2 separate regions of the Homo sapiens genome follow, and region 1 is linked to region 2. Evidence: promoter capture Hi-C in human tissues and cell types (Jung and others, 2019). All regions are on one chromosome and are shown on one strand. The core of a region is centred on a gene start or on the middle of the fragment in contact, and the rest is flanking DNA. Distances in the headings are between cores, read along the strand shown.

Evidence for each region. The method cuts DNA at HindIII sites, captures the fragments that hold promoters and counts their contacts. A contact is called where the count stands out against the background at its distance.
Region 1: a fragment that was not itself captured here is called in contact with the fragment with the promoter of STX12 in region 2 in 1 of the 25 tissues and cell types used here (mesenchymal stem cells).

What each region holds. Positions count from the first base shown.
Region 1 is chr1:27,242,129-27,247,476 of GRCh38, forward strand. The region is part of intron 1 of WDTC1 (WD and tetratricopeptide repeats 1); the gene reads left to right. Among named protein-coding and RNA genes, the nearest start is that of WDTC1, 10 kb to the left of the region's middle. The HindIII fragment of the contact is 4,284 bases long and covers 801-5,084 here.
Region 2 is chr1:27,769,562-27,774,635 of GRCh38, forward strand. STX12 (syntaxin 12) reads left to right here and starts at 3,658. Exons shown (of 9, transcript NM_177424.3): 1 at 3,658-3,864. The coding sequence starts at 3,747. RefSeq lists enhancers at 3,378-3,527, 3,494-3,994, 3,648-3,797, 3,995-4,495 and a silencer at 3,908-4,117. The HindIII fragment of the contact is 12,641 bases long and covers 1-5,074 here.

The DNA of each region.
Region 1 (5,348 bases), core at 1,693-4,192, 530 kb before region 2:
TGATCCTCCTGCCTTGGCCTCCCAAAGTGTTGGGATTACGGGGATGAGCCACCGTGCCTGGCCAGATGGTTCACACTTGTAACCCTAGCACTTTGGGAGGGTGAGATGGGAGGATTGTTTGAGGCCTGGACTTCAAGAACAGCCTGGGCAAAATGATGAGACCCCCATCTCTACAAAAAATAAAAATAAAAGTAGCCAGGCATGGTGATTTGCACCTGTAATCCTAGCTACTCAAGAGGCTGAGGCAGGAGGATCCCTTAAGCCTAGGAGTTCAAAGTTGCAGTAAACTGTGATAGTGCTACATTCCATTCCAGCCTGGGGAACAGAGCTAGACCCTGTCTCTTTTTTTTTTGAGACGGAGACGGAGTTTCGCTCCTGTCGCCCAGGCTGGAGTGCAATGGTGCAATCTCGGCTCACTGCAACCTCTGCCTCCCGGGTTCAAGTGATTCTCCTGCCTCAGCCTCCCGAGTAGCTGGGATAACGGGTATGCACCACCACGCCTGGCTAATTTTTTGTATTTAGTAGAGACAGGGTTTCACCATGTTGGTCAGGCTGGCCTCAAACTCCTGACCTCAGGTGATTCACCCACCTCGGCCTCCCAAAGTGCTGGGATTACAGGCGTGAGCCACCGCACCCAGGCGACCCTGTCTCTTAAAAGCTCAAACAGCAATACGGAGCCCACTGGGCAGGGGAGAAGACATCAAGGTGAGTTTTTATCTAAAGCTTCCCAGAAAGTAAAGCATTGCTTAGAAGCAGCTCTCTTCTGCAGAGAAAACCTCAAGCAGTCCTACATGGGATTATTTAAGCCAGGAGCCTCAAAGATGGCTAAGAAGTTTCCTGAAGATGCTTTGGTGATGAGTCTATCCTACCAGCGAAAGCTTTCCCAGAAACTGTCCTTGTACCAACTTAGTCCATGACCTTGAAATGGCACTCTTTAAATTTGTGTTTGAGATCAGCAGAGTCAAGGCAGCTTAACCCTAAGGAATGGTAAGAGACAAAGTTTCAGCAGCTTCCTGAAATTGTATCAATACTGATATTACAGGTGTGAGCCGCTGCTCCCTGGCCAGTAATTTTTTTTTTTTTTTTTTTTTTTTTTGAGACAATGTCTCACTCTGTCACCCAGGCTGAAGTGCAGTGGCATGATCTCGATCTTGGCTCACTGCAACCTCTGCCTCCTGAGTTCAAGTGATTCTCCTGCCTCAGCCTCCCCAGCAGCTGGGATTACAGGCGCCTGCCACCATGTCCGGCTAATTTTTGTATTTTTAATAGAGACAGGGTTTCACCACATTGGCCAGGCTGGTCTGGAACTCCTGACCTCAAGTGATCTGCCCGCCTTGGCCTCCCAAAGTGCTGGATTACAGGTGTGAGCCACCACACCCGGCCCAGTAATTATTATTTAGTGGCCAATGGCCTGGCCCCTGGAGTCAGACTGTATAGGTTGACTCTCTGTCTAAGAACTGTGTAGCTTTGGCAACTTCACTTTTCTGTGCCTCAGATCCTGCATCTGTAAGATGAGGATAACAATAGCACCTGTCTCATAGGATTATTATGAGGAGTCTGTGAGATGACACTTGTAAACTGTTAGAATGTTCAATAAATATTATTTAATAGGATCAGTGTCAGGCATTTTACATGCAAGCGCTTCTGTTCCTCCTCACCCTGCAGAGGTAGGTATTATCAGATTAGGAAACTAAGGTTTAGAAGTGTCAAGTCAGGGTCTGGCATGGTGACTCATGCCTATAATCCCAACACTTTGGGAGGCTGAGGTGGGCAGATCGCTTGAGCCCAGGAGTTCGAGACCAGCCTGGGCAGCATGGTGAAACCCCATCTCTACAAAAAAAAAAAAAAAAAATGCAAAAATTAGCCAGGTGTGTGTGGGTGGTGCATGCCCGTGGTCCCAACTACTCGGGAGGCTGATGAGATGGGAGGATCTCTTGGGCCCGGGAGGCAGAGGTTGCAGTGAGCTGAGATCATGCTACCACACTCCAGCCTGGGTGACAGAGCCAGACCCTGTCTCAAAACAAATAAAAATTTTTTTAAAAAAATTAAAAAGATGAAGAGACGTAAGAGGTATAGAAAAGAAAAAAAAATTTAAAAGAAATGTCAAGTCAGACAGAAAATAGGTGTCAGAACTGGGATTTGAACCTAAGATCTGTTAGGTCCACAGCTACACTCTTCATTTTATTATGCTCTTTCTTTCTTTTGTTTTGTTTTGTTTTTGAGACAGCGCCTCACTTTGTCACACGGGCTGGAGTGCAGAGGCACAATCATAGCTCAATATAGCCTCAAACTCCTGGGCTCAAGCAATTCTCCCTCCTCCCTCCTGCCTCAGCCTTCCTAGTAGCTAGGACTACAGGAGTGTGCCACCATGCCTGGCTAATTTTTAAAAAACTTTTTTATAGAGACAGGATCTTACTCTGTTGCCCAGACTGCTCTCGACCTCCCGGCCTTCAAGTGATCCTCCTGCCTCGGTCTCCCAAAGCACTGAGATTACAGGCATGAGCTACCACACCTGGCCTTATGTTATTTCCAATGACCTTTATGCATTGAAAGTGAAGTTGAGTCCTTGCTTCGTTGCATCTTTCATCTTTTTTGTAGGATTGCTCCAATAGAACCACTATAAATAGAGTGAAAGGAAACTTGCATACATCTTTGCATAATTCAGAATGTTGAAAGGGGGTCAGTTGTCACCCTGGTTGGGGGCACGTCTCTGCTATGGGAGGTAGCATGTCCAGAGGAAAGAGAATACAGATGTTTTAGGTTCCATCTCTGGTCTGCTGCTAACCAGTAGTGTCTACTTAAAATCTCAGCATAGTGTCATCGGAAGGGGTTTTGTAGCTTATCTCAGAGTCCACCTCTCATTTTACAAACGGCAGAATAGACTGAGAGAGCAAAATGCCTCACTCAGGGTCATACAGCCAGTTAAAGGCAGAGGCTGGCTTGGAGCACAAGACCCTAGATCTCCCAGTCCAGTGCTTCTTCCTCAGTACCATGTAGTATTCTGCTTCACTTCTCCCTTGTTAAATGGGGATTATTATCGTACATGAATATTCATAGCAGCATTATTCATAGCAGCGTTATATTAGCTTTCTAACTTCCTAAAAGGATTGTTGCAAAGTTCAAATTAAAAGCTTGAACAAAAGTGCTTTGATAGGTATAAAACATTGTGTGTAAGGCAGTCATGCCATTATTCATTCAGCAAATATTTATTGGTGCCTGCTAAGCTTACATCACTCCTGGAAGACCAGTGGGATCAATGGATGAATCGGATGAAGAGCAGGCCCTCAGCATGCTTTTAATCTTCTAAGAAAGAGAAGCCACGTAAATAACCACAGCTCAAGGTAGGAGACAGATGAAGGAAAGGCTAAGAATGGAATTTTCTTTCCATAACCTGTGATTTTGAGGTAGAGAAAAGAAAGGGTTTTTTTTGGTTTTTTTTTTTTGTTTGTTTGTATTTTTGAGACAGAGTCTTGCCCTGTCACCCAGGGTGGAGTGCAATGGCGCAATCTCGGCTCACTGCAACCTCCGCCTCCCGGGTTCAGACGATTCTCCTGCCTCAGCTTCCCGAGTAGCTGGGATTATAGGTGCCTGCCACCATGCACAGCTAATTTCTGTATTTTTAGTAGAGACGAGCTTTCACCATGTTGGCCAGGCTGGTCTCGAACTCCTGACCTCCTGGTCCACCCGCCTTGGCCTCCCAGAAAGTGCTGGGATTACAGGCATGAGCCACTGTAATCCTATGGGACATGCTATGGGAGGTAGCATGTCCAGAGGAAAGAGAATACAGATGTTTTAGGTTCCATCTCTGGTCTGCTGCTAACCAGTAGTGTCTACTTAAAATCTCAGCATAGTGTCATCGGAAGGGGTTTTGTAGCTTATCTCAGAGTCCACCTCTCATTTTACAAACGGCAGAATAGACTGAGAGAGCAAAGGGTTTAAGGTATTTCTTCTTTATTGACATATAATTCACGTACCATAAAATAGACAGTCTCTTAAATTATACAATTCATTGGTTTTAATATAGTCACAAAGTTGTGCAACTTGTCACCACTATCTAATTCCAAAACATTTTCATCACCTAAAAAAGAAACACATACCCTTGAGCTATCACATTCCTCCCCAACACTCCCATCTCTTTCTGTCTCTGTAGGTTTTCCTATTCTTGACATTTCACATAAATAGAACCATACGACATGTAGTCTTTTGTGACTGGCTTCCTTCACTTAGCAGAATGTTTTGAAGTTTCTTCCATGTTGTTGTATGAATTAGTACCTCATTCCTTTTTATGGCTGCATAATATTCCATTACAGTGGATATTAACACATTATATTTATTCATCAATTGATGGCCATTTGGGTTGTTTCTAATTTGGGCTATTATGAATAATGCTGCTCTGAGTATTCATGTACAGCTTTTTGTATGGACATGTGTTTTCTTTCCTTTTTTTTTTTTAGACTGAGTCTTGCTTTGTCACTCAGGCTGGAGTGCAATGGCACGATCTGGGCTTACTGCAACCTCCGCCTTCCAGGTTTAAGCGATTCTTCTGCCTCAGCCTCCTGAGTAGCTGGGATTACAGGTGCCCGCCACCACGCCCGGCTAATTTTTGTATTTTTAGTAGAGATGGGGTTTCACCATGTTGGCCAGGCTGGTCTTGAACTCCTGACCTCAGGTGATCTGCCCACCTCGGCCTCCCAAAGTGCTGGGATTACAGGCGTGAGCCACCACGCCCAGCCATTTTTTTTTTTTTTTTTTTTTCGAAACAGGGTCTCACTCTGTCACCCAGCCTGGAGTCCAGTGCCACAAACATAGCTCACTGCAGCCTCAAACTCCTGGGCCTAAGTAATCCTCCTACCTCGGACTCCCAAAGTGCTGGGATTACAGACGTGAGCCACCGCACCCAGCCTATTTCTGCATTATTATTTATTTAATTAATTAAACTTTTTTTTGAGACAGAGTCTCCCTCTGTTGCCCAGGCTGGAGCAGAGTGGCATGATCTCAGCTCACTGCAACCTCTGCCTCCTGGGTTTAAGCGATTCTCCTGCCTCAGCCTCTCGAGTAGCTGGGATTACAGGTGCCTGCCACCACGCCTGGCTAATTTTTGTATTTTTAGTAGAGACGAGGTTTTACCACGTTGGCTAGGCTGGTCTTGAACTTCTGACCTTAAGTGATCCACCTGCCTCAGCCTCCCAAAATGCTGGGATTAGAGATGTGAGCCACTGTGCCCAGCCTTGTGCAGGTTTTTTATACAGGTAAACTCATGTCATGGTGGTTTGTTGTGCAGATTATTTTGTTACCCAGGTACTAAGCCTAGTACTCAATAGTTATTTTTTCTGATCCTCTTCCTCTTC
Region 2 (5,074 bases), core at 2,408-4,907:
ATGGATTAAAAAGGAGCATAAGTCAAGGAAACTTTCTGGGGTGATGATAAAAATGTTTTATCTCTTGATTTGGGTGTGGCAGTTACATGGATGTGTACAAGTGTCAAAATCCATTGAGCTGAACACTTACTATCTGTGCATTCGATTGTATATCAATTATAACTCAATAAAAATTAAATGTAAGGGCTGGGTGTCATAGCTCACTCCTGTAATCCCAGCACTTTGGGAGGCCGAGGTGGGTGAATTGCTTGAGCCCAGGAGTTTGAGACCAGCCTGGGCAACATGGCAAGACCACATCTCAACAAAAAAATACAAAAATTAGCCAGGTGTGGTGGTGCGTGCCTGTAGTCCCAGCTACTTGGAGGCCTGAGGTAGGAAGATGGCTTGAGCCAGGGAGATTGAGGCTGCAGTGAGTCGAGATCACGCCACTGCACTCCAGCCTGTCTCCGAAAAAAAAAAACAAAAAGTAAATAAGTATAGAAAAATGCTGCTTGGTCCTAAAAATGCTCCTATGAACTATACCTGATTTTTGGAACACGCATAGTTGGGTATATAGTTAGGAGTAGAATTGCTGGGTCAGAAGGTGCATGGGAATCCTGGCTCTGTCACTTAACAGCTGTATGACATTAGGCAAGTACCCAGAATCTCTAGTTTCTTTATCCGTACCAAGGAGCTAATATCGCCTTGATGGGTGCAAACCCATGAAGACTACTTTCGTTAATTAACAAAAGTATGTAGAGCTGAGAGACATTTTCTCTAAAGCCATAGATTTTTAGAAAATTTGTTGCTCAAATTATCAGTAAGAATGGAATATATCACTCTTACCTGGAGGATCAGTTACTTTGATGCAGAAGAGCAGCCTCAATTTCTAACGCAGGTGCAGAGCTTCAGATAAGGGGTTTCCAGACACAACATTCCACATTTATCTTGGCATCATGGTTTCCAAGGAAACAGGATCTTGTTAGCTGGGGCCTGATGATAATCCCTTTACACATAGCCTGGTGTGTTTGGGGGCTATCAAAACACTGCTTCTTTAAAAATTTATCTACATTTCTTTCCCCCAAATCCTGGAATAACTCACTGTCTTCCTGTGTTTTGTGACATGCTCCATGATTCTTTTGGTGTGCAGTTTCCCTTGCAGCAGCAAGTTAATAAACTTAACTTTGTCTGACTACAGGTGGTCTTTATCAGATGGGCTTTATCTTGGAGATTACTGATAACGTACACAAAATGTGTTCATACTGCCTGGCACCTAACAGGCATTTAAGCAATGATAAAATTATTATTTTTATTATTCATGTGTTAATTCAATAAATGTTTGTTTGACATCCAGTATTTGCAAGGCACAGATTTACTGCTATGAGAGATGCTCACTGCAACCTCTGCCTCCCTGGCTTAAGCTACACTCCTGCCTCAGCCTCCCGAGTAGCTGGGACTACAGGCTCAGGCCACTATGCCCAGCTAATTTTTGTATTTTTGGTAGAGATAGGGTTTTGCCATTTTGCCCAGGCTGGTCTCGAACTCCTGAGCTCAAGCAATGATCAGCCTGCCTCAGCCTCCCAAAGTGCTGGAATTCCAGTTGTGAGCCACCGCGCCCAGCCTAAAAACCACTTTTATTTTACATGGAGAAAGAAAACAATATTTTTAATTCCTAAAAGAAAAATATCTTTACTGAACTTCACTTTAAATAGTGTCAAATGTAAATGAAAAAAATCATCAGTACTATTATATAGGTAAAAAAGTGCAATTTACATGACTTGCTTAAGATTTGACATAAAACTACAGATTCTAAGAAACGGTAAGGTTTTATAATAATAACCAAAACAGGCTGGGTGCGGTGGCTCACGCCTGTAATCCCAACACTTTGGGAAGCCGAGGCGGGTGGATCACCTGAGGTCAGGAGTTCGAGACCAGCCTGGCCAACATGGTCAAACCCCATCTCTACTAAAAATACAAAAAGTACCCGGGCGTGGTGGTACACGCCTGTAATCCCAGCTACTCGGGAGGCTGAGGCAGGAGAATCGCTTGAACCCAGGAGGCGGAGGTTGCATTGAGCCGAGATTGCGCCATTGCACTCCAGCCTGGGCAACAGAGCAAGATTCTGTCTCAAAAATAAAATAAAATAAAATAACCAAAATAAGAGTCCCCAAATGTCATCCGTCTCTTTCTAGAGACAGGGAAAAAAAATGCTCTCATAAATTCTCCAACGAAAAATAGAGATAGTCACCCTTAAAAAATCCTAAGGCTGGTGGGTGGATTGCTTGAGCCCAGGAGTTTGAGACCAGCCTGGACAACATGGCCAAACCCCAACACTACAAAAAATATAAAAATTAGCTGGGCGTGGTGGCGCACGCCTGTAATCCTAGCTACTCAGAGGTTAGGTGGTAGGACCTCCTGAGCCCAGGAGAAGGAGGATGCAGTGAGCAGAGATCGCGCCACTGCACTCCAACCTGCGTGACAGAGCGGGACCCTGTCTCAAAAAAAATAAAATAAAGAAAAAATCCTAAGGCCATATACAGGCTCATTCACTTTGGGTCTCCTTTCATCCAGGCAAGCAGCTTTCTGTCTTTGCATTTTCCAAAGACTACAAAGCAGGCTGGGGTGGGGTGGGGTGGGGTGTAGAACACAGGAAACGCAGCCAGTTCCCCTTCACTTCTCACTATCTTGATCTCCTCCCAAACCAAAATCCTATGTCTTTCCTTTTAACATAGGCTTACAAAAATGCAGTTTTCTGTGGGAACATTGAGGTCATGCATTCCAAATTACTTAAGGGAACGATTTTTAAATTTTAGGAATCTAGTTCTCCAAGATATCCCGGCTTGGGATATAGATGAACGAGCTATTTGGGAGAGATTTAGACGAGAATGAATTTTAGAGAAGTAGCGAGGTGAGGAGAGAGTCAGCTTAGCGTTTGGGTTTTGCAGTCAAATTTCAGCAAGGCGAACTAACCTCGCTGGTCTTAATTTTCTCATCGGTAAGAGGGAAAATAATAATGCTTACTTTGATGAATTACTTTACTTCAACATTTAAAAAACCGACTCTCCGTTATCTATTCTAATGATAAAAATATAGATAGAGCATCGTCCCCTGCTGTGAAAAATCTTATGAACAAGTGAATTGCGGTGAGGATTCACATAGTATGTGCTCAATAAACATTATTTTATTGTTTAGATTAGAAGAGGGGTGGAGGGAGAAATGAAAGTGGTTTGGAAACCCCAAACACTACCAAAGCCCTGGGGATGGAAGTAGAGAGGAATTTCGGGTTACGATTTGGTTCCGGGTCTGAGTTTCAACGTTGAATTCTCCCATATTTGGGCCTGAATTCTCAGAACAGAATAGGATGTAAGGGCTGAGATCATCTGGTACAGTTTTATGCAAATCGAAAATTCTTGCCTCTTGTCACTGTGCCCTGGCGAGAAACAACACCTCCACCCAAGCTCATCCAATCTCAGCCCCAACTAGGTGACGTCATCTCCCCGCCCTGCATCCCCAAGCCTCGGGGAGTCCTGTCTCTAAGCTACAGTCCCAGCTCCAGTCCCAGCTCCAGTCCCAGCGGCGCCTGCGCACTTTGGACCGGGGCGGGGAGGACGCGTGCGCGCCGCGTGAGGGCGGGGCTAGTGCGCACGCAGCCTTAGCTCCTTCCCCGCCCTTGCTCTTCCCAGTTTCTCCGTCAGCCTGCGGGTCCCGGCTGGCGGCTGCTTCCGGTAGGAGAGCGGTGTAGAGCGAGCAGGTCTCAGCTCCTCGTCATGTCATACGGTCCCTTAGACATGTACCGGAACCCGGGGCCCTCGGGGCCCCAGCTCCGGGACTTCAGCAGCATCATCCAGACGTGCAGCGGCAACATCCAGCGGATCAGCCAAGCCAGTGAGCCGGGGTACCGAGCTGGGGGGCGGGAGCTGTCCCGGGGACAGGCCTGGGTGAGGCTGCCGGGACGCAGGGCCCGGCTGGGGCTACGGCCGAGGCCACACCTGGGGCTGTCTCGGGCTGTCCACCCTGGGGGCGGTGGGCTGCCATCCCCCAATCTGTCAGGCCCGGGTTGCCCGAGGGTCCCCGGCCCCAGCTGAAGCTTGAGCTGCTTCTCTGGAGTTCTGCCCCCACGGTGCTGGGACCAAAACAGCCGACTTGACAGCCCGAGGGTGGGAAGGGGAGTGTGTGTCACCTCGAGAGCTGTGAGTGCGTTGACTTGGCGCAGTGGTCAGCCGAGTTTCTCCTGTCACCCACCTTCCTCCCCACCCACCTCGCTTTCCTCTTAGACCAGTTTGGATGGGGTTGTTTACTGATTTAGCCTTTAGGTTTACATTCTGCTCAGCCCCTGGCTCCTCGGAAATCAGCAACTTTCAATTAAGGGAAGTGGAGAGTGCATGTGTTTGGGTGACTTCATACACAGTTCTTCCTGTAATGAATTCGGAAATCAGACACAATGACTGGTATTTGAAAGGTGGGATGACTTCATTTTAATAAAGAGAATTCACCAACAGCATTTCAATTTACATTATTTTGTCTTTTGTAACAAATAATTGGGGTGTATTTTTGGATTTCAGGCAGATGAGGCTTTTGTTTTCCTTCCCTACTTAGCTGCTCTTGAACAAATCTGGTACACAGGGAAGCTAAGACACTTAGCCACAACCACATAGCAAGTAAGGCATGGTAGAGTTGTTGGTGGAATTCAGAATGCTATTGCTTGTCTTAAAACTCCCTCCTCCCCATTAGGGTCTGAGTGAAACTGTAGCTGAATGAGTCAAATACAGGGTGTTTCTTGTGCTTGAAAATCATCTTGGAGCCTTATAAACAGGAGATCAGCAGCAGCTTTACTTGGAAAGAATGGTGGTCATCATCCTTGTTGTTTATTATTGTTTTGTGAGCTTGGCGTACTCTGTTAATAGGTAGAACTAGTTAGTCCTGAATTACAATTATATTCTATATTTTAAAGAGTGTCACTTTGCTTTCGTTTTTAAACTTTTAAAAATTTTTCTTTTTTGTAGAGATGAAGTCTTGCTATGTTGGCCAGGCTGGTCTCAAACCCCTGGGCACAAGCACTTCTCCCACTTTAGCCTCCCAAAGTGCTGGGATTACA